Linked DNA regions of Homo sapiens: regions 2 and 3 are each linked to region 1. The links are contacts of gene promoters, found by promoter capture Hi-C in blood cells and fetal thymus (Javierre and others, 2016). All regions are on one chromosome and are shown on one strand. The core of a region is centred on a gene start or on the middle of the fragment in contact, and the rest is flanking DNA. Distances in the headings are between cores, read along the strand shown.

Evidence for each region. The method cuts DNA at HindIII sites, captures the fragments that hold promoters and counts their contacts. A CHiCAGO score of 5 or more calls a contact.
Region 2: a contact is called between a fragment that was not itself captured here and the fragment with the promoter of RAB38 in region 1, in 1 of 17 cell types (total CD8 T cells). The highest score is 5.4, in total CD8 T cells.
Region 3: a contact is called between a fragment that was not itself captured here and the fragment with the promoter of RAB38 in region 1, in 3 of 17 cell types (activated CD4 T cells, megakaryocytes and M0 macrophages). The highest score is 6.1, in activated CD4 T cells.

Annotation. Positions count from the first base shown.
Region 1 is chr11:88,173,529-88,177,069 of GRCh38, reverse strand. RAB38 (RAB38, member RAS oncogene family) reads left to right here and starts at 1,627. Exons shown (of 3, transcript NM_022337.3): 1 at 1,627-1,887. The coding sequence starts at 1,686. It overlaps MIR3166 (microRNA 3166), which reads right to left and starts at 568; the gene lies at 477-568. The HindIII fragment of the contact is 9,633 bases long and covers 1-3,541 here.
Region 2 is chr11:88,474,962-88,478,660 of GRCh38, reverse strand. No RefSeq gene overlaps it. Among named protein-coding and RNA genes, the nearest start is that of GRM5-AS1, 28 kb to the left of the region's middle. The HindIII fragment of the contact is 4,294 bases long and covers 164-3,699 here.
Region 3 is chr11:88,526,237-88,529,936 of GRCh38, reverse strand. The region is part of intron 8 of GRM5 (glutamate metabotropic receptor 5); the gene reads left to right. Among named protein-coding and RNA genes, the nearest start is that of GRM5-AS1, 24 kb to the right of the region's middle. The HindIII fragment of the contact is 399 bases long and covers 1,392-1,790 here.

The DNA of each region.
Region 1 (3,541 bases), core at 378-2,877:
GGCCAGAAGAGGAAGGCAGAAAGACAATGGCCTTGCCAAACCTCCTTTCTCCCTTTCACACAGGCCTGTGTTTAAGTCCTAGTTCTAACACATACTAGTTATGTGTGCCCTTGAGAAAGCTGCTGTTAATCTTGGTTTCCTTATTTATAAATTGAAGAAAATAACCCACTTCATAAAGCAATTGAGAAGATGAAATGATAGAATGTGAGCAGAGCTCCTTCACAGCACATTCAGGTACAAAATAGCTCATTTTGGTATAAACTGCTCACCCCCTAGCCCTGAATGCCCAATTTCTCATTTTCTTTATGTCTTTACTAAATTGTCTCCATCTTACTGAAACCTTCCCTGGCCACCCTATCTAAAAGGCAAACCCCATATAATCTCTTCACATCCCCTTTCTGCCTTATTTTATTACCAATTAATATATGACAAATTGTATTTATTTTGTCTTGTCCTGTCTCCACCCACAAGAAGGTAAATTTTTCTTAGGCCAGTAGGCATTGTCTGCGTTAGGAGGATGATACAGAAATCCTAACGCAGACAATGCCTACTGGCCTCAAAAAAATTTACCTTCTTGTAGGTGGAGACAGACAAGACAAAATAAGTACAATTTGTCATATATTAATTGGTAATAAAATGTATATTGGTCAAATGAATGAAAACAAACAACAAAAACAACAAAAAGAAGTTGGGAACCTAAAGACCTATGTTTGAATTTGGTTTTTTTCCTTACTATTTGACTCTGGGTCCATTACTTAAAATGTCTGGTCCTTAGCTTCCTCATTTGTAAAATAGGAAGAAAAATGGTATCTATTATTAAGACAGCTGGGATGACTAAATGACATAATTTATAAACCCTCTGGCATATAGCGAGTGCTCAATAAATGTTTGCCATTATTATTATTTGTAATAATCTGACCGATTGTTAAAACTGTCTTTCTGTGCAGCTCTGAGTTTTTAGGATATGGGAAGAGGCTAAAAGTCACCAGTGCCCTTGGCATTTTCGGCCCAGTTGTCCTCCTTGTTAACTGATTACCAGTTGAATGGGTGTGAAAGTGCTCAGTGTTCCCACCTCCAAGCTGCTCAGAGGTCAGCATTGCCATTCATTGAGAAATAACAGGCTGTGAGAGCTCAAATGACTTACTTATGGTCCCTCAACTTAAAAACCAGGGCACGCAGGAACCAAGCCCAGCCAGTCTTGGGCTTCCTAATACTGTAATTTCTCTCTACAGTGTGGGGTAGTTAAGAGCCTGTGACTTCAGACCTGTGGTCAACGGGGCCTTTCACCGGCCATCTCCCGCAGAGTACTTTTTCACAATCAGTTTTCTCGCAAGCAAAACGTGGAAAATAAGATCCACACCTCACAAGTTTGTGGCCAGGGTCACAGGTGAAAACAGCTCTTCGGAAACTCTAAAGCGCCGGATAAATAAGCGCTGCAACAGGCAACCACACGCGAACCCCTTTCAGCTGCCAGTCCCGGGACTCGCTCCTGTCTCCTCCCCTCTCCAAGACCGCGGAGTAGGAAGGAGGATTAACCCCTAGGGGAGGAGTTCCGCCCCCCAGCCCCCGCCCCGCCGCCCACGCCTCTCTCTGCACCTACACTTGCGCTCCCCAAGTCTCTCTCGTGCGCAGAGCCCAGGCTGCGCTTCCCTGGTCAGGCACGGCACGTCTGGCCGGCCGCCAGGATGCAGGCCCCGCACAAGGAGCACCTGTACAAGTTGCTGGTGATTGGCGACCTGGGCGTGGGGAAGACCAGTATCATCAAGCGCTACGTGCACCAGAACTTCTCTTCGCACTACCGGGCCACAATCGGCGTGGACTTCGCGCTCAAGGTGCTCCACTGGGACCCGGAGACTGTGGTGCGCCTGCAGCTCTGGGATATCGCAGGTGAGCGCGGGGGGAGGGGGTCAGGGGGATAGAGCGCCTCGCGGCCGGTTTCCAGTCTCGAGGCAGCGGCTTGCGGCCAAGCGTGAGATTAAAATCACTAGGTCGCGAGGCAGTTTTTCCTGGTGGGCTGGAAACTTAGTTTCAAAGAAAAGAAAAACGTCTGAAACTTCAAGTGCATTCCCTGGCGCTTTTGGGCTATTGCTTTAGCTCCTTCCCGCACAGTCCCCTGGGATCTCTCTGCCCAGAGCAGGCCTCCCCAGGGAACCAGAGGAAGATTGTCTGCAATTGCATTCTGTTCTCCACTCCAGCTCGTTTTCTGGGCGCGGGCAGTTCTGCCAATGACGCAGCCCAGTGTCACGCACGTCCTTCCGTGCAGGGGCGGACCGAGGGGAAGCCCCTAGGCTGGTTCACAGAGGAAACCGGGATAGTTCCAGGCTAGCTGGAGTTTGCCCATTCCTGTCTTCAGTGGCTCACTTTATTTCAAATTTTGTCACCTTTCTCTCTGCCCTTAAGACAAAGGAGTTTGAGGGTTTTTGTTTTGTTTTTTTTTTTTTTTTTTTTTGCTTTTTGCTTACAGTAAGCCAAGTACTTTTGTGTGTATATGTCAGGGGCAAAGTATTCTTTCTCCCTCTCTTTCTGTATTTCTATCTCTCTGGCTCTCTGTCTTCTATGAAAAGGAGGTTGTGTGTATATTTTAAGGCCATTTTTATGTAAGGGCCTATGATAGCCTTATGATTTCTTGATTTGGCCCTAAAGTTTTCATTGAGAGATCTGAAAAATGAGAGGTTGTTTGTTTTTGTTTTTTACAATATTTAAAATCAGATTTTGACTCCACAGGTTTGTACCAGAAGTTAGGCCTAGTCAAAAGTGAGGGTGCAATGTATCTACTCCAAGTGTGAATCCTTGGACAAGGCTGTTTGCAACCTGCGCATGACCAACCCCTCATTACAGATTTTAGCCCTGCCACTAACTAACCTGCTCAGTGGCTTTGGACAAGTCTCTTCAGCTCAGTTGCATCGCTGTTAAGTGGAAAGGAGTTGGGCAAGGGTCAAGGATCTTCCTGCTCAGAAGTTTTAAAGTCCTCTGGGATTCTCCATGGGAACAACTTCAAACAGTCTTATTTCATGGTCTGTGACACCAGGAACCTTTCGTTATAAGTGCTGGACCCAAACTAGCCACTTCTGTTTCAGAAAATGGATTCATTTTAGCTGATGCATTTGATTGGAAACTCTTTATCATGGCTTGAAACTAGAACAAATGTGGAAAATTTTTGAAAGGGCATTTGTGATCTGGGGACTTTCGTGCCTCTTTAATCATGAACTGCCAGGCCTTTTTCTTTTAGCATGTGAACAGATGAACAGATTCATGCATTTGGAGTCATCTTCAGCTGCTCTAGTAGCAAGGGGGTTATCAGAGAACAGAAAATGTTATCAGCCACTGTTGGATGGGGCTTTTCATCTAAAAAAATTCTCTCTGTGTACTTTCTTGCTGCATGTCATAATGTCTGAAAACCCTTCTGGCTGCTCGAAAGTCCTCAGGATTCAGATTTAGAAACGGCTTACTGTTTAAACGGGGATGTAGCTGTAATTTGGACTTCTGTGTACAATCCAGGTAACAGCATGACAGCAGAGAAGTTCTATGTCTGTAGATTTCA
Region 2 (3,699 bases), core at 1,061-3,560, 300 kb before region 1:
AGTTAGTAAAACACTGTGCCAATAAAATAATCATGTACTCTAGGGGAAACAGCCAGCTGTTACGTGCCATGCTGGAGTGCTTTTCAATTTGGAGACAACCATCCTTTTCTTAACAATGACTGCCAAGTACAGATTTGTCATTCACTGAAGACGTGAGGAAGCTTGATATTAAGACCTGTTTCTTTGTGTCCTTTCAAAATCAGGTGTAAGAAATGAGAAAGTCAGGGAAAAAATAGAAAAGGACAAGAAAATAAATGGCCTGACTATGTCATTCATAGAGTTATAATGAGGGCTTTACAAGTTTACTACTTGCTATCATCATCAGGATGATTCAGCGTTTCAGAAGATACTCAAGTATACTCTTTTCCCAATTTCCCTGTCTCTAACTTACACATCACCTCTAGCTCCAGCATGAAGATTTCAAAAATACCACTTATGTATTCTCTTCTGTCTTTTTCCTTTAGGACATTGTTTCTATGATCTGAATGTTTGTATGTTACCAAAATTCACATGTTGAAACCCCAGTAAATAATATTCAGAGGTGGGGTCTTTGAGAGATGACTAGCCCACCTTTTATTAGCCTGTGCCCAGGATCATTAGGATCAGCTCTCTCACCTGGCTCTGCTGGTGGTTGCTGACTGCATGCTGACTTTCCTCTGCACTGCTACACTCCTTCCTCAGCAAACTCTTTGAACACACAGCCTCTGCAGAAAAATGCTTTTTGCTTACACTCCCTATAGAAGTTTTAGAATCTTCTCTTCTTACCAGTATCCCCAGGCTTCCAAAAGAGGTCATTCTTACTACTTCCTGGGTTTGTGCTCTTTGAAAGGCCAACCCGAAGGAGGCCCCAAATTAAAACATATCTAACCATATTTTTAAAAGTTAATAGCCAATTAGTGTTAATTTCATGTAGCATCAAGCACATAGTTTTCTAACAACTTTCTATTAAATATAATAAATACAGAAAAGAGTACATACCAGAAGTGTAAGCTGAACACAGATGAAACCAACACACAGAAGGGCCCCTTCTGCTTCCTTTCTGCCTCTGCCTCCGCCTCTCCCAAAGACTAACCACTCTCCTTACTTCTAACATCCTATATGGGATGTGTCTTTTTCTATGCTCTCTATAAATGGAATACAATTTATACTATTTGTATCTGGCTTCTGTCACTCAACATTATGTTTGGGAAATTCATCCATATGGTTGGAGCACTTGTAGATTGATCACTCTTATTGCTGTTTAGTTTTGTGCTCTCTTGATTTGCTTAGTTGATCTCAGAAATTATGAAAATGACTCACTTCTAAAAGTTAGAATTCCACATAAGCAATGTCTTTGGGGAAAAGAAGCCTAAAAGTATATAACTCGTTAGGATTTATAGGCCATTTGATCCAATATTTTTCAAACATTTTTGCATCCAACCCTTAGTGGGGGTGCAACCACAGACAAGTCAACTGACCTTATCTGTAAAATAGAGATGATACCTACTCCAGAGAGTTGCTACCCAGATTACATGATGTGATATTTGTACAAATATCCAGCAGTATGCCTGACAAACAGTAAGAACTCAAGTTTTTTTATATTTTAAATTGAATAGGTAGTTGTGTTTCTATGACCAACCTGAAGCAAGACTTGCAGCCATCGCTGTAAACTAGCAGTCAAAAGCTGGGGGGCTACATGGATGTGTTATACAGACAATTGTTCCTCATTTCTGAACACCTGGATTCTATTACTAACCTCCCCTCTTCCTACCTAAAGTACTTTAAGGCTTAACCATTTTAGCCTCAATGGTCTCATTAGTTAAATGAGGATATTATATGTGTGTGTGTGTGCTCTTGTGTATATGTGTATATATATGTATGTATACCTATACATCTCATGGGATTGTTGTGGTAACATACTATATTCAGAGGTACTTTGTAAAATAAAATATTTTAAAGTCCAAATGACGCATATTGCTATAGAAAAGACCATGAACCACCTAACAGTTTTCACATCACAATTATCATAGAGAAAAAGCATCATGGTATCACTTAGGAGAGAAGTGAAGAGGTTTTAATTAGATTCTTAATAGCTACACATTGTAGAGAACCTACAATATGCCAATCACTGCTAAACACTCTACAAACACATACACTGATTTCCTAATTCCTCACAATGACCAGGATTTAGTATTACTCTCTTTCTCACATGAGGAAATTGGGGTTCAAATAAGTTAAGCATATTATCTAAGGTCACTTGGTAATGGGTAAGACCAAGGCACAAGCCCAAGTTTGTCTGGCTCCAAGGCCCATACTCTTGGCACCACATGGCACTGCCTCAGCAATGTGAAATAACAGATGCTGCCCAAATTAAAACTACATGGAGTTATGATTAGCACATTGGCATGGGCTCTTAAGTGGGCAGGACAGATGCTGAAACTAGGCAGAAGTAAGTGTACCAACTGATGGGAACCAGGACAAACAATCAAAGAACATGCCTATGAAAAAAAAATCTGTTGCTCCCAGAATGTTAAAACATTTTTGTTTAAACAGAATCCTCATGTCCTTGTTATGAGGAACAGTCAGAGATTTAGTGAAATATTCTCAGTGAGTCAATCAGGAATGCTGTTAAAAGTTACAGTGTGCCTGGTTCTGGGAAGACTGCATAGGTATAACGTGATCTTTAAATGGAATTTATTTAAAGTGTGATCCTTCAGTCCATCCATGTCCCTTTTGGCCATGCTTTTAAATTGCTTATAAACATGTCACACAGATTGTTAAAGGAAACACACAGGAAACTTTCAATCTTCTTGGGTAATATGATCATGAAATACCTCAGGGAAAAAAAGTACAGATGTTTTATTTGGAAATTGTGTTCTTTCTTTTTAATAGGAGTAGAACTACAGCAACTTTGTTAATTTACCTAAGGTTGAATTTGAAAGGAATAGAGAATGTAGTCAGTTCTGTCCTTACTACCTGGTTAAAAAGTCCTTTCTGAAAATACCATCAAAATGGACATTTTTAAAAAAATGACAGAGATCCTCTAATACAATCTGTGTTGCATCTCCCAAGTAAATATATGAAGGAAGTAATTTCCTATCCTTTTCCAAATATTAATTCAGCCATTTTGTGTTTTGTTCTAATCATAAACATAATGTATTCTTTCAATAAATATTTTAAATGATGCCAAAAATGATGTAGAAAAAAATGTCATTACGCATACGTGAACGTTGTTAGAACTTAGATGAACATTCTTTCACAGATATCTCTTCTCTGTCTCTATTTCTTTTTTTCCTCTCTCATGCACACCTCACACACATCTGTGCATATGCATACATAATCTTACATAAATAAAATCAAATACAATGAACATTTTATTAATCTTCTTCTTTGAACATTTCCATAGATATTTTTTCCAAGGTTTCCATCATCATGTTTAGTGGCTGCTTAGCATTTTATTTTATGGATGATAAGGCAGACGGATAGTATTGATTAAATATCCTGGAATCAGAGACAGCAGTTTCTGTCAATACATAACAAGTCCCTTTCTCTCATAAGATCTTAAGTTCCTTACTTGTAAAAAAGGTGACTGAAGTAGGTGGTTTACTTAACACCGGCATTCCATAGAGGAGTATTCTATATCCTAAATGGAATTGTTCTTTCCATTTTCATGGGCTCCATCTTCCCTATACCCTAGAATTATTTACATACAGTACTATA
Region 3 (3,700 bases), core at 342-2,841, 350 kb before region 1:
AAAATGAAGCTTTTTACTTCCTTGCCCAAATATACTCCTTCTCTTGAATTTTCTTAACTCAGTTAACTGCACCATCCAACACAGTAACTGGGGTATCATTCTATACTTCTTCCTATTATACTCATCATCCAATAAATCCTACTCATTTTTGCCTCCCAAATAGTCTTGAGACTGTGCTCTATTTTTCATCTGTATTATCGCTACCCTAAGCATTAGCTTATCATCTCTCACATGCATAACTGTAGTAGTATTTCTCTATCTCTCTAGTTTTGTTCCTTCAAGTCCATTGCATTTTATCTAAATGTCAACTCTGATCCTGTTTTATGTAGCATAAGGATTCCACAATGACATCTCATAATCAACAAGCAAATTCATCATTTTTATATACTTCTCCATCTGCTTTCCCCTTTGACCTCCTATTTTATACTTCTTACAATAAAAATTACTAAACAGTGTTTCCCAGTATACACCATGCTGCTAAACCTCTCTACATGTTTGCACCTGATTTTCTCTTCACGGTGCATGTCTGCTCAATTTTTCAGATTTGTCTTACGTATCATATCTCACTAAAGTGTTCTCTGCCAATCTAGTATGGGTTAAGTAACCCTTCTTGTATTTGTTTCTATAATAAAACTTCTTACATTGTTTGGAAATTATCTGTTTACATTTCATCTTCTCATTCAAGACTGTGACCTTATCAATGACATAATCACCCATATGCTCCTTATCACAGTGCCCAGCACATGGACTATTCAGTAAACGGTTTTGAATGATGTCAACTAAACCTGCCTGGTACAGGCATAGGGACCTAAAGGAAGTAACAAAATTTAAAGTCCTATCACTAGATTCTCTACTGCCTGTACTTGATAACTCTGCTACTTATTTGCAAAACGGGGTCAAGAAGAGAAAAGGTAAATAATAAGCTTTTGTAATTTTGTTTTTAAACGTAGTAATATTGTTACTTGGAGGAAAAATTAATGGAAATAGCATGAGCTTTAGAATCAGAGAAACCTGATTTTTAACCTTGGGCTCCCTGCTCATAAACCACATGAGGTTGGGCTTACTGACACTGATCTTCAGTGTCTGCCTCTTCAGAATGAGAATAATAGCAGCTGCTTTGTATGGCTGTTTTAATAATTTACAATAGTGTACAGCAAACAGCCTGGCATGCTCAATATTTTGTCATTATTACTTTTTATTATAACTTTGAATATAAATATAGTAAATTAAACATTTCATTTGAAAAGTGAGTTAATACTTGCAAAGCACTTGAAACAGTGCCTTACAAGTATGAGTGTATGGGTGTTTTAGTATCTGATATATAAATTTATTATGTAAAAGAAATGAAATTTTAAAATTGATATTCCATGATCTGTAAATTCTGAAAAGCTTAAACTATTTTTAATTGACAATTCCATATTTCTAAAATAAACTCAACTGGAAAAAAATGTTGAGTTTTTAAACTCAACAGTTGAGACTATTAAATCTATTAGTAATTTTGAACAGCACATTACTGGTAAATGGGATAATGAGTAAGTGAATGAATAAAAATATGATCTATTTAAATATCTGGTGAATATAATTACAGGTACAGACAGGCAAGTAGGGTCCTATCTGAAAGCAATGATGAGTTTCCCATTCTGTATTAATGCCATTTTCAGCTTGCATTGAATACAAAAACTGCTTGAAAGTTCCAAAAAGTCTAAGATATTGCTCACATTTTTAAAATGAGTTTTGTTATTATTGTTTTGAATTTTCATTATTTTGTTTTTTATATGTCAGTGAAAGCTTTTACCAAAAGCAGTTAGGTTTTGTTTTTGTTTTTTGTTTTGTTTCTATGGTTTTTCTAAACTTTTAGGTTCAGGGGTATATGTGCAGGTTTGTTTTATAGGTAAGTTGTGTTTTGCAGGGGTATAATATGCAGATTATTTCATCACCCAGGTAATAAGTATAGAATCTGGTAGGTAGTTTTTTGATCCTCACTCTCCTCCCACCCTCCACCCTCATGGAGGCCCCAGTGTCTATTTTTCCCTTTGTGTCCATGCGTACTCAGTGTTAAGCTCCCATTGATAAATGAAAACATGAAGTACTTGGTTTTCTGTTTCTCCATTAGTTTGGTTAGGATAATGCCCTCCTGTGCTATTCATGTGTAAAGGACATGATCTCATTCTTTTTATGACTGCATAGTATTCTATGATGTATATGTACCACATTTTCTTTATCCATTTTACCGTTGATGGGCATTTAGGTTGATTCCATGACTTTGTTATAGTGAATAGTGCTGCAGTGAACATATACATGGATGTGTTTTTATGATAGAGAGATTTATATTCCTTTAGGTATATGACCAGTAATGGGATTTCTGGGTCAAATGGTAGTTCTGCTTTAAGTTCTTTGAGAAATTGCCAAGCTGATTTCCACAGTGGCTGAACTAATTTCCATTCCCACTAGCAGTGTGTAAGCATTCCTTTTTCTTCACAGAGGTTAGAGTTTGATAGAATAAGATGCTTAGGATCTATTCCATATTTCATAAACAGAGGTCACCTGGCAGAGTGTGTGTGGTCATGAGAGAAAGAAAGAAAGAGAAGAGCTTATAAGCATGAAGACTGTAGGTTTCTTAACTCATCTATGAAATATTTAATGATTAATTCACAATTAGCCTAACAGAAGATATTCAAAAATATGTTAAGGATCCCTTTGTAAGGAAGTGAATGACCACCAATAATTTATTATTCTATCAATATTCTTTTAATTTGAGCTGTCGAGCAGTATTTTGCTTGAGCAATCCAATTCACAAAGAAGCACAAAATACTTTGCATTGAAACATTGAGCATCATTTGGCCATTGGTACTTCTAAGGTATTTTCTTGGTAAAATTAAGTCTACTCAATCTAGCTTGGTCTGATGATTTACCTCCTTTAACAAAGTCTCTAAGTTCTTTTCCTCTCTTCTTTATGCCTACATCTAAAATTACTTGTGTACGTATTTCTTATTTCCTTCCTTCTCCTACTGTTAGGTAAATTCTAACAGGTGGGGCCTGCAGATTACTTATCTTTACATCTGTAGTGCAAAGTCCATTACCTAGGATTTAATAAATGCTCAACTAATGTCCGTTAAATAGGTAATCCATTAAATTCATTTTGCTTGATGTAATAAGCCATTTTTCTTCAAATACTAGATACTTTAAACATTTTAGAAGGGAAAAAAAATTAAGAGGAAGGCCTCTGCCCCAGGATCAATAATGATGTTGACTTTGTTGCATTTTATTTTATTTTATACTACTTTTGAAACAGCAGGAAAATAAACTAAAAAGAGTGTGACTGTACTGAGATAAACAAGTCTTATTATAGTAACTCCCTTTATCATAGCCTACTGGATACCAGGAAGGTGGATGAAGTGGTGTTATACCAGGCTCCAGTTTAATTAGGGAAAAGGTAATAAAACCTTAAGAGCTCTGGGCCCCTGCAAGCTCTACAGGTGGTTATTCTCTACTGATGAGGCTTGTGACTTTCATGAAGTCAGTTAAGTAAATCTAGCTTCCTCATCTGGCAAATGGAAATAACAGTTCTTTTTTAAAAACCTTACAGAATCGAACCAATGAGTAAAAGAGGTTATTTCTGTGAAATCATGTTAGCTCAAAAAACTGTCATTGAGATACAAGAACTCATCTTGATGCACCACGTAGAAGAGTAATATTGGGA